Regions from separate parts of the Homo sapiens genome. Here regions 1, 2, 3 and 4 are each linked to region 5. Evidence: promoter capture Hi-C in human tissues and cell types (Jung and others, 2019). All regions are on one chromosome and are shown on one strand. Each heading gives the region's core, a stretch centred on a gene start or on the middle of the fragment in contact. The rest is flanking DNA. Distances are from core to core; before and after follow the strand shown.

Region 1 (5,723 bases), core at 951-3,450, 460 kb after region 5:
ATATGGGAAAGTCAAGAAAAGAATAAATAGAGCTGAAGGGAAGAGGGAAAAGGGAGAAACAGGTGGGCAGAGTCCCAATTTACAAGAATTATTTACATTCAGAATCCAGAAGAACTCAACATTTCTCTATATATACATTTATGTACATATATATAAATACAGCACAAAATTAGAGGGTGGGTTTTGGATTTTATCTCAAGTACTCAAAAAAAAAATGCTAGCGAGCTTGAGTTGCAGGTATTTAGGTGTGTTTCTGTCACTTAAAAGACACTGCATTTGTATCAGACAACTGGCATTCAATGAGACATTTTTTTTTTTTTTTGCAGTTTTTGCTCTCAGCTGTAGCCCTGACATGAAACGCTTGCTACGTTTCTGCAGCAAAGTGGGCCGAGCGCAGTACGCACAGGTGTGGTGTTAGCCAGGGAGACCGAAGCCACACAGAAGGGGAGTCAGTAAATGTCCATCTCCACGGTGTCTGCCTTTGCCATTGGGAGGCCTGAACTAATCAAACGTTCATTAATAGGATCCCAGCCTAACAGCAACGCTTATGTAGCACCATTCTTAGAAACTACCAAGTATCACACAGGTACATGTGTATGGGGACCTTCCTCTTGACTGCTTGTCAAGAAAAGGATCCAGAGGGAACTTCTGCCCCTACTTCCATGAAGTGAGATGCAACAATCATTTCCAATCTATTTTTTTATCTCATGCTAAAATGAAAGTGGAGGGGAGAGGGAAGAAGGCTCCCATTCTACAATTATAAATGCTGTCCTGGTAGCCTTTCTTCTCTTGCCGGCTAACAATTGTTCTAACAGCATCCCATGGAGGCCAGCAAATGAATGCCCCAGGGACTACAGCCAGAAAATTGTGCCTGTAAAATATCATATTCCTCTGGAGCTTGGTAATATAGAAATTTTACCTCTACAGATGAGGCAAACTAAAATATTGTTGTAACTCAAAAAGGCTTCTGAAGTGCTGAGTTAGAATAAATATATATAGATACATACACACACTACATTGCTTTGGATGCAGGTTCTTACTAATTTATATACACATGTAAAGAGAAGATACTGAAGTGTCTAACTGTAATTTAGCAGCAGAAAAAGAAAACTGCTTAACATATTTGCTTCTTAATCAAGTTGTGTTTAAAGAAATGCATTAATACTCCTATGAATTTGTATCATTGATAGTGTATCTGGATAATCCCAGTAACTACAGACAGAGACCTTGTGGTATGGAGGTTGCTAAATGAGGGGAACACTAATTCCCCCAGAGATAACATCTGAGCTGCTTTAGACTCTGGAAGTGGTTTTCAGTACAATTGACGCTGTAAACTCTGAAAACACGAACATGATTTCCAACCAAATCTTTGTGCTCAGAGCCATATTGCTAAAAAGAAAAAGGCATTGCAGAGGCAAAGTGGACATGGGGTTAATTAAACAAGGCCTCTGAATTCAGGTGTGGCATTTAGATCCTGCAATGAATGGACCTATTTTACAGAAGTCAGCGGCAAATTTTTTGTATTTTTTGGTACAGATGGGGTTTTGCCATGTGGACCAGGCTGGTCTCGAACTCCTGGCCTCAAGTGATGCACCTGCCTTGGCCTCCCGAAGTGCTGGGATTATAGGAGTGAGCCACCACGCCCGGCTACGAGTTGGGTTTTAACAGAAGAGGACCTTGAATGCTGAAGCTTCACAGGGCGGCCAAACTAACTCGCTGATTTTTGCAAGACCACAGTGTAAAGGTCGGATGTCCACCTGAAGAAGGGGTGGGTGCAACTCTCTGGGTGCTGCACACACCATGACCAGCCTGGGCATGCAGCACCCCAGCTCCCATCCATTCACACTGGTTGCCTTTGTGAGGTCCATTTTGAGAGGGCTTTCAGAGGCCTTTTTAATGAGAAAAAAAAATAGCTGTTCTACAAAGAACCTAAGATACATACACTCCTATTTATCAAGATGGCTAGTCCAGAGCAAACATTACATCATAGGCCATGGGGGTTGTCACTTAGCTGCATGCTAAGAATCCTCATATGCTGCTTTGAAAACGCCATAAAAAACTAAGATGCCCTCATACACAGAAAAGAGGAGTTGGGCCAACAGCCTGCGAGAGAAGATCCTTCCCAACTCTGCCATTCTTACTGCAGGAGGGTTTGTAATGCTTCCCCACTTCCTCAGGTCCAGCGACTGCACCTCCACCACTGGAGTGGGGGACACTTCCATTGCTGATGGAAGCTGCCTACTGCTTTTAAAAACACACACATGAGCTGAGAAGTTCTGCTGAAGGTGGGGAGAGTGCTGCTCTTGGCTGCCAGCCGGGTCTAGCGGCCCTAACAAGGGAAACTGGCTGATACAAAATGGATCACTGCCTGAGATATATGAACTGGACTGAGGATAGAAGTTGCATCCGCTGGGCAAAATGTGCCAAAGAACAGAAAGTACTTTCAATTTATTCTTTTAGGCACCAAGAATAAATAAATCCTAAGAAAACTTACGGTAAGCTTGACATAACCAAACTCAGGCTAAAGGAGACACAAGAGGATGAACGCCCTAAGCTTTCAGCCAGGTTTGTCAGTTTTAACACACATCTCACCCAATTCTGCAAGAAGTTTACAAACAATTCAACTTAAAAAACATTCAGAAGTACTATCATTATACCCTTTCCCTCAATGCCATCTTACATTTTAGGGATAAGTTTTAAGCCAAACTATAAGGCTACCTGGAATGCTGAGACAACACACAAATTCTGCTGAGTCCCCGTCACAGACTACTTCTGAAGGTCACCAGTGAGGGCCTAAACAAGAGTCCACTTCTTGTTAGTATAATAACTTTTTATTTGACATCTACAAGATTTTGGCATCTTGCAGCTTTTTACCAGGTTTATACAATCTCGATTTTTCAATAGTGCAACCTGTGGAAGCAAAAAAAAAAAAAAAAAAAAAAAAAAAGAAAAAAAGAAAAGAAAGAAAAAGAAAGAAAAGATAAAAAGACCAACTGTCCCCTCACTTGTTTTTATAAACATCTATTATAGGCGAAACAAAACTTACCCATATTATATAGATAAGTGTCTATTCACATTTGTACATTACCATTTTTAACAGCTTGAGATAAACTCTACGTCTTACAACACATTAAACAATATTCAAGTTACTGAGTAACAACAATAACAACAATAACAAAAGAACACACAGCAGAAGCCTCAAGTGTTTCCTCATTGTCTACAACTCAGGTATGGTTTCCTTTTTATGAGTGACAAAGCAAATTAAGATAATGAAGTAAAAAACGATTGTTTGCAAGATGAAAGCCAATTTGTACTTCCTTCTAAAACTACCTTTAAGTTGCAAATGTAAATTTAAGAGGCTCATAGCCATTTCTGCAGCACACATTAGGAATACTATTAATACATTAAAATTAACTTTTAAGAGTTTTATCACAGAAAAATGTATGTATTCATTACCTTGACCAGAAACCCAGGGCAGGGAGAAGGGGAAGGAGGGGTCTGCAGGGTTTGAAGCAATACCCAGGTATAAACACTATAAAAATGCAATAACCAATGCTGTACATCTAACAAATGTTTCTCTCTGTTACTCGACTCCTGTGTTAATCTTGTTTCAGCATGCTTCCAAAGACATGCACTGTCAGAACAAAAATTAGAAAATAACCTGAATGCATGATATGCAACCTTTCATTTCATGCTTTAATAAACCTATTAAGTTGGAAAAAGAAACCAATATATATTTTCTATATTTATAGACTCAAAACACATGCATCCGGGGATACCTCCCACAGCAATGGCATGGATGTACTGCGTTAACCCTGAGCACTGTATAAACATAAAGTAAAGCCAGTTTGGGAAGTTCCAAGCATTTTAAACCAACTGTGGTCTGTAGCCTTTAACACACTCACAAACAGACTGACACACACGCACACACACATCCCCCTCTGCTCACCCGAAGTAAAAGCAGATGGGAATTATCAGGGGAGAAGCTAAAGGAAAGACATATGTACCACCATCAGCACTGCTGATTTTCAGTTTTGCTATCTATTCCAGGTTTGTCCTTACTCCCAAAAAAACTAACTAGAGAGCACAACTGAAAAAAATATATAATTCTTTGGAAACTGTCCCTGATTTTTATGCAAATGATATGCTTCAACAGCATTTCAGATCCATCCATGTTGAAACCTGTCTGTTCTTCATGCGTTGCTCAAGTTGGTGATGCTCTGAGGGTGATGCTGTTGCCATAGCTGTTTCTGTTGGACCGCAAGCTGTTGAGACTGGTCTGAAGTTGATAGGAGATTTACAAGAGGAGACACACAATTTGCCGGAATGATCAAACCTGTAATTAGTAACAAGAATTTATCAAGTTGTGTCCAGAAGAAACCACACTGTACAGCTTCACAGCAGATTCCAAATGAGGCATAATATTAAGCGTAATGGACAAGAAGTTCACACAAAAATTAAACGACTACCTAATAAATGAAATGGCCATTGAGATGTAGTCTGATTCTTCCACAGCATTTCCCACAAATACCCAAGCATATGCATGTGTTTAGTGTAATGCTATCTTGTTGGAGGAATAGGAAGTCAAGAATATCTATTATTCTCTTTTTAACAGGAGGTTAAGAATATCTATTATTCTATGTATTATCTTTTAATGCACCAAAAGACTACAGAACAGAAGTTGCAAATTCAAATGCTAACCGAAACAGGTTAACTTAGAAGAGCAGATACTAGCAAACTGGAAAGGATACTCTCTGGGTGCTGGTTAAGGGAACTTTAAGTCCTGCATGTAGGATTGAAGGCTCAATGTTCCAGATAAATTGCATGCATATATATATGTGTTTTTTTTTTTGTTTTTTTTTTCTGAGATGGAGTATTGCTCTGTCGCCAGGCTGGAGTGCAGTGGCACAATCTTGGCTCATTGCAACCTCCGCCTCCCGGGTTGAAGTGATTCTCCTGCCTCAGCCTCCCAAGTAGCTGAGACTACAGGCACCTGCCACCACGCCTGGTTAATTTTTGTATTTTTAGTAGAGACAGGGTTTCACGATGTTGGCCAGGATGATCTCGATCTCTTGACTTCATGATCCACCTGCCTCGGCCTCCCAAAGTGCTGGGATTATAGGTGTGAGCCACCGTGCCCGGCCCTATTTGTTTTTTTTTTAAATAGAGACAAGGTCTCACTGTGTTGCCTAGGCTGGTCTCAAACTCCTGGACTCCAGCAATCCTCCTGCCTCAGCCTCCCAAAATGCTGGGATTACAAGGTGAACTACCATGCCCAGCTGATGGGCTGCTTTTGAAACTGGAAATCTAGACTTTTATATGAAACCTCTTGATTTTTAAATGTTGGCAATTAATTCAAATGAGGCTGGGCTCGGTGGCTCACGCCTATAATCCCAGCACTTTGGGAAGCTGAGGTGGGCGGATCACTTGAGGTCAGGAGTTTGAGACTAGCCTGGCCAACATGGTGAAAACCCATCTCCACTAAAAAAATATAAAAATTAGCCAGGTGTGGTGGTGCATGCCTGTAATCCCAGCTACTCGGGAGGCGGAGGTTGCAGTGAGCCGGGAGCACGCCACTGCACTCCAGCCTGGGCGACACAGTGAGACTCAGTCTCAAAAAAAAAAAAAAAAAAAAAAATTCATTAATTCAAATGAAAACCTACAACATCCCAAAATACTGGTGTCCAAAAAAAAAAAAAAAAAAAAAATTCCATAGACTGACT
Region 2 (5,519 bases), core at 468-2,967, 330 kb before region 5:
ACAACTTTAGAATTTGGAATAAATCTATGGATGTCCACTGTAGAATCCTTTCAACTTTTTTTTTTTTTTTTTGAGACACAGTCTCACCCTGTCGCCCAGGCTGGAGTGCAATGGTGTGATCTTGGCTCACTGCAACCTCCGCCTCCCAGGTTCAAGGGATTCTCCTGCCTCAGCCTCCTGAGTAGCTGGGATTACAAGCACGCGCCACCACGCCCGGCTAATTTTGTATTTTTAGTAGAGACGGGGTTTCACCATGTTGGCCAGGCTGACCTCCTGATCCTCATGATCCACCTGATCCTCATGATCCTCCTGACCTCATGATCCACCCGCCTCGGCCTCCCAAAGTGCTGGGATTACAGGCTTGAGCCACAGCGCCCGGCCTCAACTTTTTGTATTCTGAAAATTTTCCTCACAATGTGGAGGAAGACGACATTCTGAAAAAATAAATCGCGCTTCACAAACCTTAAAAACTGATATACTGACTGGGCGCCGTGGCGGGCGCCTGTAATCCCAGCTATTCGGGAGGCTGAGGCAGGAGAATCGCTTGAACCCGGGAGGCGGAGGTTGCAGTGAGCCGAGATCGCGCCACTGCACTCCAGCCTGGGCAACAGACTGAGACTCCATTCCCCGACCCCGTCCCCCTAAAAAAGCTAACATATCAGCCACTTTCAGTTCTCTACAAATTTTAAAAGGAAAACTACCCGAACCAAAGTTATCTATCTACCTATAAAACTCTACGAACGTAAAAAAAAACATACTAGCAAATCAAGAAAAATCTGCAATCTTGTAACTCAAGTCTAACAGAAACTTCTTTGGCGCGTTTTCCTCAAGGCGTTGCAAAGCATCTTCAGCACAGAAGCGAGCTCCGAGTGGAAGAACTCTAAAATTAATCCCCAATTTTAATCAAGCAATTAACCAATTATCTCAGCACACCCGGATTCCTTGAGGCCCCCAACTCTGCATTCTGGGACCACTAGCGTTTGCCCCGGTATAAAAACCGATCCCGCGTCTAAGCAGCCGGTATTTCATCACCTACAACTGTAACATGACGGCACAATTTGAGCGTGGCTGCGAAATATGAAACCTCACCACGACCTCAAACAGAGGGGGGCAATTAAGGGCTTGTGTACAATCTGTCAGGTGAGCAGCCTAAAATAACCCTAAACACGGCACCCGGGTGGGAGGCAGGAGTGGGTCTGGTCAGGAGACGGCCTCCCTGAGGGGAAGAGGTCTGCGCCGAGGCAGCCTGCGCGCCCCGAACCCTAGACTCTCGGTCCGCCGGCGGGTGACAGAAAGCACTTGGAATTCTGGCCCTCCTGGAACTTCCGCCCGCGCCCTCGCCCTCGCCCGGCGCTGCCCCGGCCCCACGCCTGGCGCTGCCCCGGCCCCACACCCGGGTGACAGGGCCCAGCGAGAGGAAAGGATATTCTCGGCGCGGAGCTGCTCGATGGTCTCCTCGCACTGCCGAAGCCGCTCCCGTAGCTCCGCGTCGCCGACCCCATTTTCGTCCTCCTCGTCGCCGTCGTCGTCCTTGAAGCGAGTGTGAACGGGCTTCGGAATCGACTCCTCTGGGTGGTCGAACGGCTCGAAGAGCTCTAGATCGCCAAAATACACCTCTGCGGCCATTTTGGGCTGTGGAAAAGATTCGAGAAGAGGCGGAGCCGGCCACCAGGGCTTGGGGAAGAAGGTTGGAAGGCGGCACCACTCTCTAGAGCTCTGGCCGCACGGAGCCACCCGCTAGGGTTTTCTCCAGACGCAGGCCGCGAAAGCTGCACACGGGGCGGGGCCAGTCGCTAGAGACTACAACTCCCGGAATGCAGCGGGGCCTATCGGGCTTGCGATTGCCCGGAGGACGGCATGCTGGGACGTGTGGTTTCTAAGCGACTGGTACTCATTGTCTGCATTGCATCCTGGGATTGGTGCTTTTTGAAATGTGAAGAAAGCTGGAGTAGGTCAGAATGCGCTAAAGCAATCTGGGGGCAGGGCGGGGTGGCTCACACCTGTAATACCAACTACTCGGGAGGCAGAGGTGGGAGGATCACGTGAGCCCAGGAGTTGGAGACCACCCTGGGCAACAGAGCGAGACCCAGACACTACAAAAAAATATAAAAATTAGCTGGGCGATTGTAGTCCCAAGTACTCGGCAAGCTGAGGCGGGAGGGTTTGAGCCCAAGAGGTCGAGGCTGCATTGAGCCCAGATGGCGCCACTGCACACCAGCCTGGGAGACAAAGCAAGACCCTGTCTCAAAAAGAAAAAGAAAAACAAAAACCAGTATGGGATGTTCCTGTTAGGCAACTAAGGGTGAAAAATCAGAGCACGACGCATAGCTTCTCACAGATTCTGGTGTGCGTGCCACACCAGAGAATAAGGAACTCCATAGCCTGAAAGGGAACTGAATAAAAATAAACATAAAAGAGAATAAGAAACTCCAGCTTTGCTACAGAGATGACTGTTGTAGATTAGTTTATTGAGCTTGCTTCGTTTTTAATGTAAGATTAGCTAGACTCAACTATTTGTCTGTTGAGGCTTTCTGTCATTCAATCACATTATTTACTTACACCTTCGATGGGCCAGGCACTTGTCTAGGACCTGAGTATGGTTACAAGAGTAACCACAATAGAGTAATTCCTCCTCTCACGAAGGCTGTAGTCCACAAAAAGCAACAAAAACCCCATAATTATAAATGTTCCTGTTCTTGGGTCGAGATGGTTGTTGATGGATATTGATCACACAAAGAAATGTGGGCCGGGGGCGGTGGCTCACATCTGCAACCCCAGCACTTTGGGAGGCCGAGGCAGGTGGATCACGAGGTCAGAAATTCAAGACGAGCATGACCAACATGGAGAAACCCTGTCTCTACTAAAAATACAAAAATTAGCCAGGCGTAGTGGCACACGCCTGTAATCCCAGCTACTCAGGAGGTTGAGGAAGGAGAATCGCTTGAACCCGGGAGGCAGAGGTTGCAGTGAGCCGAAATCGTGCCACTGCACTCCAGCTTGGGCGACAGAGCAAGACTCTGTCTCAAAAAAAAAAAAAAAAAAAAAAAGGTGAAAAACACAGGAAGTTATGAATATTTAACAAACACCCTAGTCTGTGGGAGTCAGTAAAGTGAGGAAGTGAGACTTTAAGGATCGGCAAAGTTGGGGGTGGGAGGATGGAAGAGTGTCTTAGGTGTAAGGACCACCATGTTGAGTGAAAAGGCAGAGTGGAGCAAGATGAGGTTGGAACACTGCTAGGTCAGTGCTCAAAGGCCCTTAAGGAAGCCTCTTTCCGTTTACAACATTGGGAAGTCACTTACACATTTTAACATTTTTTTTTTCTTTTTGTGGACAACAGGATCTCCCTATATTGCCCAGGTAGGTCTTGAACTTCTGAGCTAAAGCTATCCTCCTGCCTCTGCCTCCCTAAATACTGGGATTACAGGAATGACCCACTGTGCCTGGCCATTTAAATTTTTTTTTTTTGAAATTTTATTTTTTGAGACAGAGTCTCACTGTGTCACCCAGGCTGGAGTGCAGTGGCATGATCTCGGCTCACTGCAACCTCCGCCTCCCAGGTTTACTTTCACTGAAAAATCTGCATGAGGCCTGGCGTGGTGGCTCACGCCTGTAATCCCAGCACTTTGGGAGGCCCAGGCGGGTGGATCATGAGGTCAGGAGTTCAAGACCAGCCTGGCCAACATGGTGTAACCCGGGAGTTCAAGACCAGCCTAGCTGACATAGTGAAACCCCGTCTCTACGAAAAATACAAAAATTAGCCGGGCGTGGTGGCGGGTGCCTGTAATTCCAATTACTCAGGAGGCTGAGGCAGGAAAATTGCTTGAACCCAGGAGACAAAGGTTGCAGTGAGCTAGGATCATGCAACTGCACTCCAGCCTGGGCAAAAGAGTCTCTCACAAAAAAAAAAAAAAGAAAAAAAGAAAAAAAAATTCTGCATGTAAGTGGACCCTAAAGTTCAAACCCATGTGTTCAAGGGACAACTGTAATTTCATCTTTTAATTATTTGCATTTGGCTACTCAAAAAAGAAATTGAAATAAAATACTTAGGCCAGGCACTGTGGCTTCACACCTGAATCCCAGGTAGCACTTTGGGAGGCTGAGATGATGCAGATCATTTGAGGCCAAGAGTGGGAGACCAGCCTGGCCAACAGCCTGAGAACCCCATCTCAGGTACATTGTCATGGGCCTTTGGTGCCAGCTACTCAGGGGAGTGAGGTGGGAAGATCACTTGGACCAATATACATATACACACATATTTTATTGGACAGTGCTGCTCTAGATGAGCAAAGTACAGGCTGTATCACTCATCATGTATGGTCAGCTCCTAAAATAACTGTAGACACACAGGAAGCTTTTGCGTCCACACTGCCTTAGAAGGTCATGAACATTTTTAATAAGATTGATTTAAAAAGGCAGAGCTTAATTGAAAAATGTTGATGATCACGAAATGAAGGATCCATAGTGTCATTTCCTTAGAAGGCTTAGATTTGTCACTGAAACACGGTGAAAAGCCATTTTGCCATAGAATTTCTGTGCTCTGGGAAAATGAAAGGTTTATTAAAGTACATTAAAAATCTTACAATCTGGCTAGGTGAAGTGGATCACACCTGTAACCCCATCACTTTGGGAGCCCTGAGGTGGGAGGATTGCTTGAGGCCAGGAATTCAAGACCAACCTGGGCAACGTAACAAGACCTTGTCTTTATAAAAAATTAAAAACAAGCTAGGTGTGTTGGTGAGCACCTGTGGTCCCAGGTACTCAAGAGGCTGAGGTGGGAGGACTGCTTGAGCCTGGGGGAGCCTGCTGCAATGCACTGCACTCCAGCCTAGGACAGAAAGCAAAAAAAAAGAAAACACCCCATTACTTCATTTTCATGTATAAAAAAAATACCTAATGAGCAAGTTGGCAAGACTTAATTCCAGCTTTTAAAATAAGGCTGTCAATCTTATTCCTGTAGTCTTCCCTGATTGTAATGTGCTCTCATTCTGTGATGTTTTCCAAAGGATTTTTCAAAGGAAAGCCAAACCTTATTACTTTGCTGTAACTGAAGTAAATTAACTTCAAGTTTTGCAGGCCCCCCCCACCCCTTGGCTCCAGATTTATGTTCAATCTAGTAACAAAACATTTTCTAGGCTGGCTGCAGTGGCTCACGCCTATAATCCCGGCACTTTGGGAGGCTGAGGAGGGTGGATCACCTGAGGTCAGGAGTTCAGGACCAGCCTGGCCAACATGGTAAAACCCCACCTCTACTAAAAATACAAAAATTAGCTGGGTGCGGTGGTACGCCTGTAATCCCAGTTACATGGGAGGTGGAGGTGGGAGAATTGCTTGAACCTGGGGGGCAGAGGCTCTGGCAGTGAGCCGAGATTGTGCCACTGCACCCAGTTTAGGCAACAGAGCAAGATCCTGTCTCAAAAAAACAAACAAAAAAAATTTCTAATATTTTAATATTTTATAGTCTATGCTGGAGAAGACTTCAAAGGGATAATGAGCAAAAAGCATGCAAAGAACTTGTTATA
Region 3 (4,965 bases), core at 2,148-4,647, 270 kb after region 5:
TACTGAGCAGCGTCAGGTGTGTGTCAAAGAACCATATCAATAAACAAAATGTAGATGGGAGCAGTCAGGAGGGGCACAGGTGACAGAACTGGCCAGGGCATGACATGGGTCATCAGATTGTGCCCAGATCTCTACCAAGCTCTGTGGGGACAGCAAAGGAGCTGAGGAGGAGCTCTCTGTGGACTTCAGGGCAGCATCTTTGCTCCAGGGCATGAGGGCACTCAGCCCTCTACTTCCTCTCCATAACCTCCCCATGCTCTGGGCTCTCTGGGCAGCCTTCTAACATGCGAGACTTATCACAGACCTAAACCTCACAGGGACGGACAGGCCTGCATTCCCATGTGGGACTAGGGCTGCCTGAGAGGAGGGACTAGGAAGCAAGGCCCTCGCTGCAGGTAGGGCTCTGCTGCTGCTACGGATGGAGATAAGTCCCTTCTTCACCTGGGATGGGACTTCATCCAAGGGGCTGGAGGTGGGGATGGGGGTACAGCATGGGGAGGTGGGGACGTGCCCTGGAAAGTCTGTGTCATTGCTGCTGTGGTCTGAGGCCCTGCCCATGTCATGAGCTCTCTTTCTCCTCAGGAGACAGTGACCTTTTGAGGCCTGTCACAGAGACAATGGCAGGAAGTGCCCCTCCCTGCCTGAGCCACGGGGAGTCCGGAAGGAAGCCACTGCCTGGGCCCAGGACCCTCCCCGCTGAGCTCTTGCCCAAGGGACACTGAAGCTCATGGCAATGCCAGAAGCTCTGCTCACCAATGCCGAATGGCAAACATCTTCAACTGTGAGGGCTAAGGGCAAATATTCTCCTTGGCTGGGACCCTCCTCTTTAAGGCAGACCCCTACTGTGAAAGACAGCCAGGCAGTAGGAGACACAACCCCAGCTACCCCACCCACCACCTGCCACCCCCACCTTCTGGAAGGAAGGGCTCTGGATTCCTCCACAGCAAGGAGCTTTTCTAAAAATAAACCCTGGTCCTTGAGCCCTTTCCTTCCTCAGTCCCTTGTGGAGGAGAGAGGAGAAGGAAAGATCTCGTTCTTAGCGAACCCCAGGGAGTGTGGCCTCCCTCCACCCCATGACTCTCGCTACCAGGGCCCGGTGGTCACTATGCCACAAACTCCCAAGCAGGGTGCAGAGGCATGGAGGGGGCAACCCTAATCATCCTCACATGGGGCCTGCCATTTTCTAGGGGAGGGTTTTGGGAAAAGCAGGTGGTACCAGCTCTCTAGTCCAGGATCTGGGGGGAAAGGATGGCACCCAAAGGCAAGTCTCCCACATTACAAGGTTCCCAGGTCAACAGCAGACACAGACACTTACTGAAATATTTCAGGGAAAATGATGCCAAGAATTCTGAGGTCCAAGCAGTATGCCGTGACAGCACAGAGGGAGGAAGGAGAGGCTAATGCGGACCCAGGCCTTGCAAAGAAATTTAGAGGAAAGGAGCTGTTTGAAATGGGCTTGGAAGGTGAAACAGGAACCTGACAGGTAGAGGTGGGAAGAGGGAATTTCAGGATGCTGGAACTGCATAAGCAAAGCGCAGAGAATGTACCAGCATATAAACTAGACGCGGGCAGGGATGCCTGTCTGTTTTGTTCACAGTGGCGTCTCTGGCAACTGGAATGGTCCCTGGTGCAAACTAAGTAACAATAAATACTTTATGGACAAATGAGTGGAGCAGAACAATTCCTGAAGACATTTTAGGTCTAAGTGAAGACCTTCGGATGAGGTGAGCTGCAAGGCCATGGTCTCTGCAAAGCCACTGCACTCTGGAATGCAGTTGTTAAGAAGGAATAGAACCTCCTTCCTGTAAGAAAGGAGACAGGAGACCAAGGCTGTGTTGAAGCAGCGTCCCTCAGAGCAATGTCAGTGCTCAGGCCATGCAGGGCAGAAGAGCTCTCACCGGGCCCTGCCTCGACTTGGCAGCCAAGACCTTTGGCAACAGGACAACCACGAGGCCCCAACCCCGCAGAACCCGAGTGACCCCTGGAGAAGCTGCAAGTCAGGGCTGAGTGTTACTATGTGCCCTCCCCTACATCCACTCCCAGTAGCTGGGACACCTTGGAAAGTGAATTAAAACAAAACAGAAAAACAAAAAATACAACATAGCACTCTCTCTTCTTAGCACTTGGAGGCCTTTTCACAGCAACTGAAAAGAATGAGCAATTAGAGAAGATAACAGTCCACGGTGCCAGCCTGGAACTACGGAGCCACAGAGGCAACTTAAGAGGCCCCATCACAACGTGCCCTATCTTCCCAGCAAGGATGAGGGCACCCGGAGAAGGGAAGGGACTTACCCGAGATCAGACAGCAAGTAACAGTTGAGCCTGGGCTGAACCAAGGGCCCTGTGAGTCACAGGCCAAATTTGAAAAACCATGCCATGTGCTTCCAGGTCTAGACTCGGGGTCCAATCCCAATCCCACCACTGACTAGCTGTGCAACCTGGAGCTGATATCTGCCATCTCTGAGCCTCGGCTTCCTGTGTAAAAAGGGACCCTAACAGGCACTGCTCATGGTTACTGTGGGACTTAGCCCCATGCAGCAGGGGCTGGGTACATTAAACCTACCCCCACCAGCATCCTCACCTCAGCTTTGCTAGCTTCCCTTGATGGAACATCCATCCTCCGTGCCTCCAAAGCTGAAACTAGCCAATGAGTGAACAGGAGAAGGGTTCATCAACATTTAGGAAAAAAAGAAGGAAAAATCACTTTACCTCCTGTTCCACCCAACAAAGGCCTTGGCATGGAAAATGGGGCCAAGGCCAGGGATTGTGCCTGAGACAAAGAAATACGAAATGGAAAGAAGCTTGGGAGGCCAGGGGCTCCTGCTGCCAGCTGGGGGTGGGAGGGGAGAGACTGCTACTCCCTGGGCCATTCAATCTCTAGACCTGGCACTCCCTGAGACTCAAGACAGAGGCTCAGGCCCACCCTCCACTCAGCCTTGGCTTCTCACTGTACATCCAGAGGGATGGTGCATTAAAAACCACACTCATGCTTGTTTCTGGGCCACTGACCATGACTTGCGGGCAGCTGAGCAAGGCAGCAGCCCAGCCTCTGCTCTCTGCCAAAGCCAGCGAGTAGCCAGAGCCTGAGCTTCCCAGCCAAGGCACAGAAGAAGCATAACTCCTGCCTGTCCTCTTCCATGTACTAAGGGTAGAGCAGGCCAGGCTAAGCCTCAAGAGCAAACAGAAAAGAGCCACTCTGGGGTGCTCTATAAACAGGAGAATAGCAGCCGTTGGGGCCTCAAAGGCTGACCCAAGCAGTTTTTATCCTATTTGGAATCGAAAGCTACCAGAGGCAGAACATCGGTCTTTCGTATTTAGTGAAAAGAAGTCAATATTTGCAAAAGCGTAATCAATAAATACAATCTACCCCACATTAATCAGATAAAGTCAGGTTTATAGTGTCTTTTTAAGAGACGGGGTCTCACTGTGTTACTCAGGCTGGAGTGAAGTAGTGCGACCATGGCTTACTGCAGCCTCGAACTCCTGGGCTCAAGTGATCGTCCTACATCAGCCTCCCCAGTAGCTGGGACTATAGGCATGTGGCACCTCACCCAGTTAATTTTTTTTTTCAGAGATATGCAGTCTCACTATGTTGCCGAGGCTGTCTTGAAATCCTGGCCTCCAGTGATCCTCCTGCCTTAGCCTCCCAAAGTGCTGGGATTACAGGTGTGAGCCACTGCGCCCAACAATAGTCCGGTTTTTAGGGGAAAAGGGAAACAGCAATAAAGTCTCCGTACCCTCAAACTCCAAAGGCCAGGGTGGCCTGCAGGGCCTCAGCTCTGGGAAGTAGGGTGCTACTGCACAGGTGGACGGCCTTACCTGTGGGTCTGAGAAGGCTCCACTGATGTCCCTGTCAAAGGAGGAGAAATGGGTCCCTAGGCTCACAGAAGGTTGTTGAGGACCAGGACACACGTGCCAGCATCCTGCAGGGAGAAGCACAATGGGAGAGGAGGTGAGACACCTGGACTCTGATCACTCCACACCAATCCAACTGGGAGACCCACAATGCCGATGGACCAAGAGGATTGAACAGGGGACATCTGACTAAAGGTGTCTCCATTTTACAAAGGGACCCAGCCCAGGACGATTCAGGAAGCAAGTGTCTAACTCAGAATTGGTGACAGATACACCCCAACATTGCCCGGCACCCCTTCTACTTAGGAAAACTGCTCAGGGAGTGGGAACTGAGACCACCAGCACACACCATAAGCCATCCTATTTTCAAAGGCCCCTGGAGCTCTGTCTCAAACCTTGATTTTTCACTCATGAACCCCACTGGGATTGGAGGACTTCAGACCGCAGAGAGGAGGCTGGAAAATGAGGTAATGCAGGAAGAAGAGTGGGAGACACAGTCCGAGAGGATGGCGTCCTGATGCCGGGACAGGGGCATGGTCATATTGTGGGGTGATGCAAATGGCTTCCAGCCTTCCAGCAAGCCCCTCCAGCTGGGCAGAGTGTGATCTGACTACCCAGAGGCCAGAGACAAGCATTCAAAACAAAATGAAAAAGGTGGAGAAATGGATTTCCAAAGAGTCGCAGGTCCAACAGCCTCAGAGATGACAAAGTCTTCACAGGTACCACTGAAGCCACTACCCAACCCAGGGCTCCTACAGGGACCACAGACAAGCCGGGTAGCCCACCTCGCAGCTCAACACACATTCTTGTTTGCCTGACACACATACAAGCCTCCTGACCCTGGGCCCAGAGAGCAGGTAGCAGCCTACAGGGCTCTCCAATGACCATGACAGAGAGGCTGCTTATCTGCTGGCTATGGAAGCTGGGAGTGTTTCAGGAACTGATGCCCAATTCCAGGGCAACCCTGCTTTAGGAGCTGAGGACAGGCATGGTGGGGGTCTCCTCAGACACCAGTCCATGCCCGCTAGGGGCAAGCACAGCCCTAACAAAGGGAAATGGAATGGTGGCTGGGGATGGCAAAGTTATCAACTGCCAAGTGAACGGCCAGAC
Region 4 (5,619 bases), core at 2,128-4,627, 350 kb after region 5:
GCGTATGCCACCATGCTCAGCTAATTTTTGTATTAGATGGCGTCTCATCATGTTGGCCAGGCTTGTCTCAAACTCCTGACCTCAAGTGATCCACATGCCTTGGCCTGCCAAAGTGCTGGGATTACAGGCTTGAGCCACCACGCCTGGCCTATTGTATATTACTTTTTGCTAAATTAGTTCTACCTAGTAAAAGCACAATGCCAAAGTCTTTATTTAAAAATATATATATGTGAGGCTGGGCATGGTGGCTCATGCCTGTAATCCCAGCACTGTGGGAGGCCAAGGTGGGTGGATCACTTGAGGTCAGGAGTTCGAGACCAGCCTGGCCAACATAGCGAAACCTTGTCTCTACTAAAAATACAAAAAAATTAGCTGGGTGTGGTGGCGCGTGCCTGTAATCCTGCCTACTTGGGTGGCTGAGGTGGGAGAACTGCTTGAACCCAGGAGGCGTAGGTTGTAGTGAGCTGAGAGGGCACCACCGCACTCCAGCCTGGGTGACAGAGTGACATCTTGTCTCAAAAATAAATAAATAAGAGGCCGGGCGTGGTAGCTGACGCCTGTAATCCCAGCACTTTGGGAGGCTGAGGCAGGTGGATCACTTGAGGTCAGGAGTTCAAGACCAGCCTGGCCAATATGGTAAAACTCCGTCTCTACCAAAAATATTTTAAAAAATAAAAATAAATAAATATAAGAACACATATGTGAGATTTCTGGTTAAAGATGACAAATTAATAACAGAATTTTCTTCTCTTCACCCTCAGAGTCCACTAAACTAACAATGAAGAAATTAAAGAGAAAACAAACGAGGTGACAGTAACAGGTGAGAGATTTCAATAAAGTCTTAGAAAATTGAAAAGAAACAAAGTGCTGGCCGGGCGTGGTAGCTCACACCTGTAATCTCAGCACTTTGGGAGGCCGAGGCAGGTGGATCATCTGAGGTCAGGAGTTCAAGACCAGCCTGGCTAACATAGCGAAACCCCGTCTCTACTAAAAATACAAAAATTAGTCAGGTGTGGTGGCACGTGCCTGTAGTCCCAGCTACTCAGGAGGCTGAGGCAGGAAAATTGCTTGAACTTGGAAGGCAGAGGTTGCAGTGAACCGAGATGGTGCCACTGCACCCCAGCCAAGGTGACAGAGCAAGACTCTGTCTCAAAAAAAAAAAAAAAAAAAAAAAGAAAAAGGAAAAAAGTGCCTTAGCAGGGTGGAAGTGGATACAACCCCAAGTGCCTGAATCCAGAAATGCTGATGAAAAGCAGGCTGATGTCAGCATAACTGTGAGAGATGCCCACCTTGAAACCCAGGTTTAGAGATGGACAGGGTTGAGGCACAGGGCTGACCACAGAAAACTGGTTGAAATTCCTTAAGTAATCAGAGCCCAGGACACATCCCATACAGCAGTAGACTGTTCAGCCAGGTGGCAGGACAGCAGGAGAAAATGAATGGGGAGAAAAATGGAACTTTGGAAATCCAAGGATAATAGTGGAGTGGGAGGCAGAGGATAAAGAGAAAATGACAAAGTAAAAGACTTCAAAAACACCCAGGGCAGGTCACACCTATAATCATAGCACTTTGAGAGGCCGAGGAAGATTACTTGAGCCCAGGAGTTGGAGACCAGCCTGCGCAATATAGCAAGACCCCATCTCTACAAAAAATTTAAAAATTAGCCAGGTCTGGTGGCATGTGCCTGTAGTCCCAGCTACTGGGGAGGCTGAGGCAGGAAGATTCCTCGAGCCCAGGGGTTTGAAGATGCAGTGAGCTATGATCACACCACTGCACTCCAGTCTCGGTGACAAGGTGAGACCTGTCTCTAAAATAAATATATTAACAAATAATTTTCTTTTGAAAAAAGGTGACCTCCCCCTCCTCCACTGCCAGAATCTGACTGATAGGTCCCAGGCAAGAGACTGTAAGACCTGTCTTTACGAAAACTGAACAACCCCAGAAAAAAAACCTTCTAAACATTCACATCTGGAGGTCCCCTAACAAAATGGCTGGTGCATGACTCTACAATCGCCTGAAAATGAAGGCTACCAGGAACTAAGTCCCATCCATACACTTAAGAGTCTTTCAATAGCTTTTTATACTGCTTCGCTTTAATTTAATTTTTTTTTTTTTTCTTGAGATGGAGTCTTGCTCTGTCGCCCAGGCTGGAGTGCAGTAGCGTGATCTCTACTCACTGCAAGCTCCGCCTCCCGGGTTCACGCCATTCTCCTGCCTCAGTCCCCTGAGTAGCTGGGACTACAGGCATCCGCTACCACGCCCAGCTAATTTTTTTGTATTTTTAGTAGAGACGGGGTTTCACCATGTTAGCAAGGACGGTCTCCATCTCCTGACCTTGTGATCTACCCGCCTCGGCCTCCCAAAGTGCTGGGATTACAGGCATGAGCCACCGTGCCCGGCCTATTTAATTTAATTTTTATCTTTTGAGACAGAGTCTCACTCTGTCACCCAGGCTGGTGTGCAGTGGTGTGATCTCAACTCACTGCAATCTCCACTTCTTGGGTTCAAGCAATTCTCATGCTTCTGCCTCCCGAGTAGCTGGGATTATAGATGTGCACCATCACACCCAGCTAATTTTTGTAGTTTTAGTAGAGACAGGGTTTCACCATGTTGGCCAGGCTGGTCTCAAATTCCTGGCCTCAAGTGATCCACCCGTCTCAGCCTCCCAAAGCACTGAGATTATAGGCGTGAGCCACCACACCCAGCCTAGTGCCTCTTAAATGTGAGCCTGCAAAAGAACCAACACTTGGAAAAAGACATTAAATATGAAAGATACTTCAAATGAAAACAAAAGCTTAACTCAGAATAATGAAAACTACAGAAACAGTCCAATGGAAGCCATAATATTCTCAAAGAAATAACAACATTAGATTCAAAACAGGAATAGAAAGCTATTAAAAATGATCAATCAGAAAAAGAGTTGTTAGAAACTAAAAAAAAAAAAAATATTGTTACAAAATTTCGGCATACCAAGGATAAAAAGATGATCCTAAAAAACTTCCAGAAAGAGAAAAAAAGAACCACATTAGAAAGGAATGAGAAACATGATTACTAAATGCAATGTGGGCCAGGCACATTGGCTCATGCCTGTAATCCCAGCACTTTGGGAGGCCAGTGTGGGAGTATCGCTTGAGCTCAGGAGTTGGAGACCAGCAAGAGCAACATAGTGAGACCGCATCTCTACAAAAAAATAAAATTAGCCAGGTGTGATAGCCTGTAGTGTCTGTAGTCTCAGCAGTCGGAGAGGCTGAGGTAAGAGGATCACTTGAGCCCTGGAGGTTGAGGCTGCAGTGAGCTATGAATATGCCTACTGTACTCCAGCCTGGGTGACAGAGTGAGATCCTGTCTCAAAGAAATGATAACAATAAATGCAATGTGTGATCCTTGATTGGATTCTGGATTAAAAAGCAAAAAACAATACATCTATAAAGGATATTATTTAGACAACTGGCAACATTTGAATATAGACAGAATGTATTTACATATTAGTATTATATCAATGTTAAATTTCCTGAGGATGAAAAGTACATTGAGATTACACAGGAGAGGCCGGGCATGGTGGCTCAAGCCTGTAATCCTTAGCACTTTGGGAGGCCGAGGCGGGTGGATCACGAGGTCAGGAGTTCGAGACCAGCCTGACCAACATGGTGAAACCCCGTTTCTACTAAAAATACAAAAATTAGCTGGGCATGGGGTGGTGTGCGCCTGTAATCTCAGCTACTTGGGAGGCTGAGGCGGGAGCATTGCTTGAACCCGGGAGGCGGAGGTTGTGGTGAGCTGAGATCGTGCCATTGCACTCCAGCCTGGGCAATAAGAGCAAAACTCCGTCTCAAAAAAAAAAAAAAAAAAAAAAAAGAGATTACACAGGAGAATATCTCTGTTCTTCAGAGATACCTATTGAGGTATTTAAGGGTAAATTATCATAGTGTCTAATTTACTCTCAAATATAGTTCAGCAAAAGAAAAAAGTTTATATCTCTATGAAGACAAAGCAATGCTGTAAGATACTCACAACTGGTAAATCTAGGTAAAGAATATACAAGGGTTTTCATTGTATCATTCTTACAATTTTTCTGCAGGCTTGAAACTTTGAAAGCCATGGGAGGGGAGAGAAAGGAAAAGAATTGATCATGTCATAGGCAATAAAACAAAGCCTTCAAATCTGAAGAAAACATACACCCAGAATCACAGTTAGGATCTAGATCTTCATCTTCAGCTAGGACCTAGATCTTCACCCACCACAATTATAGATAATATGTAAAATTTAAGAAATAACAATATCGAGCCAGCCACAGGGGCTCATTCCTGTAATCCCAGCCTTTCATGAGGCTGAGGCAAGTGGATCACTTGAGGTCAGGATTTCGAGGTCAGCCTGGCCAATATGGTGAAATCTCATCTCTACTAAAAATGCAAAAATTAGCTAGGCATGGTGGCACGCGCCTGTAACCCCAGCTACTCAGGAGGCTGAGGCAAGAGAATTGTTTGAACCCAGGAAGTGGAGGTTGCAGTGAGCCAAGATCATGCCACTGCACTCCAGCCTGGGCGACAGAACAAGATTCCATCTCAAAAAGGAAAGAAAGAGGCCAGGCGCAGTGGCTCTCGCCTGTAATCCCAGCACCTTGGGAGGCTGAGGCGGGCAGATCACCTGAGGTCAGGAGTCCGAGACCAGCCATGGCTAACATGGTGAAACCCTGTTTCTACCAAAAATACAAAAAACTAGCCGGGTGTTGTGGTGCTCGCCTATAATCCCAGCTACTTGGTAGGCTGAGGTAGGAGAATCACTTGAACCCAGGAGGCAGAGGCCGCAGTAGCCAAGATTGCGCCATTGCACTCCAGCTTGGGCAATAAAAGCGAAACTCTGTCTCAAAAAAAAAGAACGAACGAACAATATCAGTACATTATTTAGAAATACATAAATACTAGAATATGATATACCTCGAGAAAAAAATGAACAAAGGATGTAAAAGGCCTTAATTTTTAAAAAAGAAAAATACTTGAGATTTAAACCACGTTCATGTATGGGAAGAATCAATATTTCAAGTCTCAGCTGTCTCCAAATAAATCTGTAAATTCAGTGCAATTCCAATCGAAAGCAGAGTGGCATGCTGACAGTAATATTTGTATGAAACAAAACAAAGCCAAGAAATAGGCAAAATAATTTTTACAAGAGCAAAAAAACGAGATAAGGAAATGGCACCAAAAATCAACACTTGTTATAAAATACTAATAATTTACATGATGTGGTTCCAATTCAGAGACAGACCAATGGAACAGCTCAGAGCCTCAAAGGAGATTTACACGAGAAGGAAATAAAATGTACAACAGAAGTCAGTAAGGGAAGGAAAATCTATTTAAAAATGATTCTGGGACAACTGGTTAATCATTGGAGGCAGGGAGGATCAAGTTCAATTCCTACTCATACCATATATTACGTAAGAGGTAATTCTGGGCTGGGCGCCGTGGCTCGCACCTGTAATCCCAACACTTTGGTAGACTGAGGCGGGTGAATCACCTGAGTTCAGGAGTTCAAGACCAGCCTGGCCAACATGGTGAAACTGTCTCTAGTAAAAATACAAAAAGAATTAGTGAGGCATGGTGGTGGGTGCCTGTAATCCCAGCT
Region 5 (5,362 bases), core at 588-3,087:
GTGAGAAACAGCTGGAGTACCGCAAAAAGCCCCTTTACTGTGGTCTTTATTAGAGCACAGCTATCAACTAAGTTGACTAAGTTACATATGAAGGGTTTAGCCCAGTGCCTGCCAAATAATAAGCATTCAGTACATATCAGCTATTGTGATTCTACCGTTATTCTGATAAAGAAGCTTTTTAGTGATTGGAATTAGAGAAAACAGGATTAATTTCTCCTTTTGGTGCAGTGACAGGAGAGTCTTGGCAAATGTTATCTTTTGGGGTCAGCTCTAGCTCTTGGGCTGGAGGGTGAGGAATCAGTTAAAGAAAAGGGTCCCTGGCGGGGTGTGGTGGCTCACGCCTGTAATCCCAACACTTTGGGAGGCCGAGGCGGGCGGATCACCTGAGGTCGGGAGTTCGAGACCAGCCTGACCAACACGGAGAAACTCTGTCTCTACTAAAAATACAAAATTAGCCAGGCGTGGTGGCACATGCCTGTAATTCCAGCTATTTGGGAGGCTGAGGCAGGAGAATTGCTTGAACCCAGGAGGCGGAGGTTGCGGTGAGGTGAGATTGTGCCATTGCACTCCAGCCTAGGCAACAAGAGTGAAGCTCGGTTAAAAAAAAAGAAAAGAAAGAAAGAGAAGAAAAGAAAAGAAAGAAAGAAAGAGAAAGAAAGAAGAGAGAGAAAGAGAGAAAAGAAAGAAAAGAAGGAGGAAGGAAAGGAAAGGGAAAGGGAAAGGAAAGGAAAGGAAAGGAAAGGAAAGGGTCTCTGACCTCAGACAGGTTACAGTCTCACTAGGGAGACAAGGGTCAGGATTACGTGGGCGTCATTTTCCTCCTTACAGGCAGGCGGTGCCTCTCCCTTCAAAAGCAAGGGACCTTTATGCATGATTCCACATCTGCATTCCGATAGGAAAGGGAAACAGCAGAAACACAATACCCATCTGAGAGCTACGCTTAGAGAGGACTCTGGGCTTTTATTTATTTTTTTACTTCAGTCTTGTGACCAGTAATTTTAAGGGAAAGCCAATAATAATGTTTTTAAAAAGCCTCACGCCACCCCTGGCGGCATCTCCTCGGTGTACTTTGCTGTTCAGATCCGCCTGCCTTCTGTGCCAGCCTAACAGCGCCCGGCCTCAGCCCCCATTGTCCCTGGAGCTGGCGAGGTGTCCGGTTGCGGAGCCGGCGGCGTCTCTGGAAATGCATCCTGCATCCCCGCATGGATAACAGCTGCAGCTATGTCAGAATTGCACAAAGAGGGGAGAGTGTCATTGTGTGCCTTTTGACACATACATTAAGACCAAAAAGGAAAAAAAGCGTCTATCTGTGCTGCCACCGACCAGACTCATGGAGGCCAGATTTTCTCCAATTAACCAGATCTTGCCCTGGTGCAGACAAGACTTAGTGAGTTCGGAGGAGGGGTGGGGAGAGGGAATTGGCTGGGGTCCCTACCCTGGGTGGAAGGAGGAGGGAGGGGTTCCCCCTCCCCCTTCCCCTACCCTCCCCTCCGGGTTTAGGGAGGGGATTAGAGGTGGGGAGGAGCTGGGGGGGCGTTTGGCCTGTGCCCCAACCTTGTGAGTGAGGTGGGGGTTGGAGGTGTGCGGGGGGCGGGGCGTGTGCCGGGGTCGCCGCGGGATGGGGGGTTGGGGATGTGCGGGGAGAGGCGCGTGTCCCGAGATCGCGGGGGGTGGGGTTGGAGGTGTGCGGGTGGAGGGGCGCGCCCTGGAGTTGGGGGCGGGCGAGGCGTTTGCGGGCGCGGGGGGCGGGTTTGGAGGTGTGCGGGGGAGGGGCGTGCCCTGGAGTTGGGGGCGGGGCGAGGCGGGCTCCTCCCCGGCGGGCGGGCCCGGGCGCGGCGCGGTGGCCTCGCGGTGCCTAGGCTGGGGCTGCCGGACCGTGAGGCTGTGAGTCGCGCGGACGGAGCCGGACAAAAGCGGGCGGCGGCGGCAGGATGAACAGCATCAAGAACGTGCCGGCGCGGGTGCTGAGCCGCAGGCCGGGCCACAGCCTGGAGGCCGAGCGCGAGCAGTTCGACAAGACCCAGGCGAGCGGGCGGCGGGCGGCGGGCGGCGGGCGGCGGCGGGCGGGCGGGCAAGCGGCGTCCCTGACCCCTCACGCGCGAACGGCTGGGGCCCGGGAGGCGCCGGCCAGGGGCGGGGGACGGCGCGGGGGCAGGGCCTGTGTCCGCCCGGGCTCTCCGAGAGCTCCGCTGCCGCCCCCCGCCGGCCTCCGCGGCCCGAGCCGACCGGCGCGCAGGTGAACCGGAAGCCGCGCTCCCCGCTCCCGCCGGGCGCTCGGGCCCAGAGGCGCCGGGGCTGAGGGGGCCGGGGTCAGGGTGTGCGCGGGCCGGGAGCGCCGGAGCTGAGGCGGCGGGGGACGGAGATGGGGCCGGGGTTGGGTGTGCGCGAGCCCAGCGCGCCGGGGGTCGAGGGGGCTGGGGATCCAGGTGCTCCCGGGGCCGGCGCGGCCCGACTGGGGTCCCCGACCTTCCGTGCCGCTCCTTGCCGGCTCCTGCCCCCGTCTCCTACCCCCTGAAACCGATGCCCCCACGGGCAATTTCCTTAAAGGAAATTCCTTAAACTCCCAGCTTCCTTCTCTCGTGAGCGGTTTCCCAGGGCTGCACAGTCTCCTATTATTTGCTGGGTGAAAAGCTTCTCGTATGTCGCCAGACTTGTTTGCCCGAGCGCTGCCCACGTATAAATAGGTGCACACCCCCTCATTAAATACCGGCGCCCGACAGACAGAAACTTCCTGGGGCTCCCTTCCTGCGCCTCCCACGCTTGTAACTCTTCCAGATGATGCCTATCCTGGGAAGGCGTTAGAAATGAAATAAGGGCGCGGGTGTGCGTTTTGTACTTGTGTTTGTGCCGGGGACCCACGATGCAGACGTTGCTGCGTTTCTGGTTTCCTGTTGCTTTTTATTTTACAAACTCTTGAAGTGCTCTCAGGCTTGGGGGATGGGCGGTGGAGGGGGGCATACTTGTTTATTTGCCAAAATAAGTCAACCAAGACTGAAATGGCTGAAAAATTTTACTCTAGAGATAAAGGAAGCCAGAGGACCCCTCCCACTCCTGTCTAAAGCAGGTTGGTGACATTTGCGTTTGTGGCGGCTATTTGCAAGTTCCGTCCCACTTGTCCTTGCAGAGAGCTATGACTTCTGCGGTTGCCTTCACATCTAGTTAGCACACGCACTCTACAACAGCTTTCGTTTTGAAATGAGAGAGAACGCAGGGAGACCTTCTAACCTTTGTGCTTGGGATTGACCCAGAAAGCGATAATAAATCCTGAGGATATCAAGGCTTTAGAAATGCGAAGTGCTGGAACCCAGGTGGCTGCAAATTACCAATTTAGCCTTGTGATCTTCATCACCATCAACTGGTTCAGCCCGGATAGCCCGTCATTTTAAAAAAATTTAAAGTCACCAATACATAATTAATTGTGCCAAGAACTTGTAGATCATAGGGAGAAAACCTGAATTGGCAGACATATCTGGATGTTGTCAGAAACTTTGTTTATTCACTGAGTTTTTTCTCGTGCCTTTGAGGACGTATAAAGAGGTCTGATTGCTACATGGAGGAGATGGGATGTGAAGGACCAACTTCATTGATCTTACTCTTAAATGATAAGAAGTCAAGGGCAACCTTCCTGAGTGTCAAAGAGAGAATCTCTGATACAGGACCACACATTTTAGTGGTTGGTTTGATACACAAGAAGGTGGATTTTTTTTTTTTTTTTTTAAAGACAGAGTCTCTCTCGTTGCCCAGGCTGGAGTGCAATGGCATGATCTCAGCTCGCTGCAACCTCCGCCTCCCGGGTTCAAGTGATTCTCCTGCCTCAGCCTCCCAAGTGGCTGGGACTACAAGCGTGCGCCACCACACCTGGCTAATTTTTGTGTTTGCAGTAGAGAAGGTGTTTCACCATGTTGGACAGGCTGGTCTCGAACTCCTGACCTCAGGCGATCCACCCGCCTCACCTCGGCCTCCCGAGATGTTGGGATTACAGGCACCTCTCCGAAGGTGGATTGTTTTGTTTTGTTTTGCTCTGGTTTTTTCTCAGAGGCTAAGAGGGCCACTAACAATGAATAACTTTGTAATGGGTGAATGTCACAGGTCTTACCTATTCTAGGGCCCCATTTTCTGGAAAGTTGGAGTTTGAGTTCATTGTCTGGGTTTGCTCGTCTTCACAGTGACTTATTGAGGAATGTAAGAATGAGGTTTTGTACGTGGTTAATATTTAATTAGATCGTTCCCAGAAATAATCAGGTGAGCCGCCAGCCAGGTCCCGTGGTGGAAAAGGACCTGGAGAGCTGAGGTTGTTACTTCCATGTCTCCTTCGGGACAGAAAATAGCACATGCAGTCCAGGGACCTGGCTTCCTTTGTAATACGCTGCTTGTCTTGCATTGACCACAGCACTGTGTGCTGTGGCAGGAGCACTAGGCTGGCTTAGAATTTAAATATTCACTAGCCTGCCAGCCTCGCTTTCCTCCCCTGGGCTCCTGGGTCAGGAGGAAGATAATTGCTTTCCTGTGAGCTTTTTTGACAGGACACACCCTGTTTGCAAATATCTGTGGGGTTAGCGCTCAGGAGTGTGAAGAGAGGCGATCATGTGCCTGCTGGGAGCTGGTGCCTGTGATTGTTGCATGGTGTGTGTGTATAATCCCAGGGGAATGTCCAGAAAACCAGTGTATGCTTTTCTTCCCTATGACTTTAGTCCCTTTGGTTAAAAAAAAAAAAAATCCTTTTCAAAATGGAGGTGACAAACTTTTATTGTCTTGTTGCTGTTTTCTGAATACAGAATACTACAAAATACAGCATGCCTGTATTTGGAACCTGAACACTGCCTGTACCATTTAAAAAGAGGGTGTGGTATCATAAAGGCACTAGTAGGTAGATAGACCTAGGCTCTAGCCTGTGTCCCTGGCAAGTTGCTTAACTTGTAAATCTATGTCCTTGTCTGAAAAAAAAACCATACAGATCGTTCCAGCTATCGTATAGGGCTGTTGTAAGGTGTAAGAGAGAGACCGTGTGGCAGCTAGAACCTGTGACTACGTTAATGACTTAGTAAGGCGTTGCAGGTGGAATTAGAGTTTTTCATCAGCTGAGATGGTCCTTGAGATGGGGCGATTCTCCTGGGCTACCAGGTGGGCTCAGTGTAATCACAAAGGTCTTTAAATGTGGACAAGGGAGGCAGGAGAGGAGGTCGGACTGAGTCCATGTGAGAAAGACTCACTGCCTGCTGCTGGGGAGGAGCCACTAGCCAAGGAGTATGGGCATCCTCCACAGCCTGGAAAAGGCGAGGAAATGGATTCTTCCCTAGAGCCTCCAGGAGGAAACACAGCCTTTCTGACACTTTGCTTTTAGTCCTGTGAGACCTGTTTTAGA

The links. The method cuts DNA at HindIII sites, captures the fragments that hold promoters and counts their contacts. A contact is called where the count stands out against the background at its distance.
Region 1: a contact is called between a fragment that was not itself captured here and the fragment with the promoter of HIP1R in region 5, in 1 of the 25 tissues and cell types used here (dorsolateral prefrontal cortex).
Region 2: a contact is called between the fragment with the promoter of ZCCHC8 here and the fragment with the promoter of HIP1R in region 5, in 1 of the 25 tissues and cell types used here (dorsolateral prefrontal cortex).
Region 3: a contact is called between a fragment that was not itself captured here and the fragment with the promoter of HIP1R in region 5, in 1 of the 25 tissues and cell types used here (heart left ventricle).
Region 4: a contact is called between a fragment that was not itself captured here and the fragment with the promoter of HIP1R in region 5, in 1 of the 25 tissues and cell types used here (spleen).

What each region holds. Positions count from the first base shown.
Region 1 is chr12:123,291,715-123,297,437 of GRCh38, forward strand. SBNO1 (strawberry notch homolog 1) reads right to left here. Exons shown (of 32, transcript NM_001167856.3): 32 at 1-4,336. The coding sequence ends at 4,194. Among named protein-coding and RNA genes, the nearest start is that of CDK2AP1, 23 kb to the left of the region's middle. The HindIII fragment of the contact is 4,586 bases long and covers 1-4,493 here.
Region 2 is chr12:122,499,215-122,504,733 of GRCh38, forward strand. ZCCHC8 (zinc finger CCHC-type containing 8) reads right to left here and starts at 1,718. Exons shown (of 14, transcript NM_017612.5): 1 at 1,428-1,718. The coding sequence starts at 1,626. It overlaps RSRC2 (arginine and serine rich coiled-coil 2), which reads right to left. Exons shown (of 10, transcript NM_023012.6): 10 at 4,240-5,519. RefSeq lists enhancers at 686-1,377, 1,378-2,071, 1,567-1,646, 1,847-1,906, 1,957-2,136 and 1 more and silencers at 1,277-1,426, 4,855-5,055. The HindIII fragment of the contact is 12,081 bases long and covers 1-5,519 here.
Region 3 is chr12:123,106,566-123,111,530 of GRCh38, forward strand. PITPNM2 (phosphatidylinositol transfer protein membrane associated 2) reads right to left here. Exons shown (of 26, transcript NM_020845.3): 2 at 3,820-3,923. Among named protein-coding and RNA genes, the nearest start is that of PITPNM2-AS1, 28 kb to the left of the region's middle. RefSeq lists enhancers at 570-779, 618-1,358. The HindIII fragment of the contact is 5,617 bases long and covers 590-4,965 here.
Region 4 is chr12:123,182,397-123,188,015 of GRCh38, forward strand. The region is part of intron 13 of MPHOSPH9 (M-phase phosphoprotein 9); the gene reads right to left. Among named protein-coding and RNA genes, the nearest start is that of PITPNM2, 34 kb to the left of the region's middle. The HindIII fragment of the contact is 5,791 bases long and covers 483-5,619 here.
Region 5 is chr12:122,833,620-122,838,981 of GRCh38, forward strand. HIP1R (huntingtin interacting protein 1 related) reads left to right here and starts at 1,838. Exons shown (of 32, transcript NM_003959.3): 1 at 1,838-2,024. The coding sequence starts at 1,932. It overlaps LOC124903040 (a long non-coding RNA gene), which reads right to left and starts at 1,614. Exons shown (of 2, transcript XR_007063501.1): 1 at 1,555-1,614; 2 at 936-1,219. RefSeq lists an enhancer at 1,440-1,489 and silencers at 1,740-1,979, 2,150-2,349. The HindIII fragment of the contact is 9,768 bases long and covers 1-5,362 here.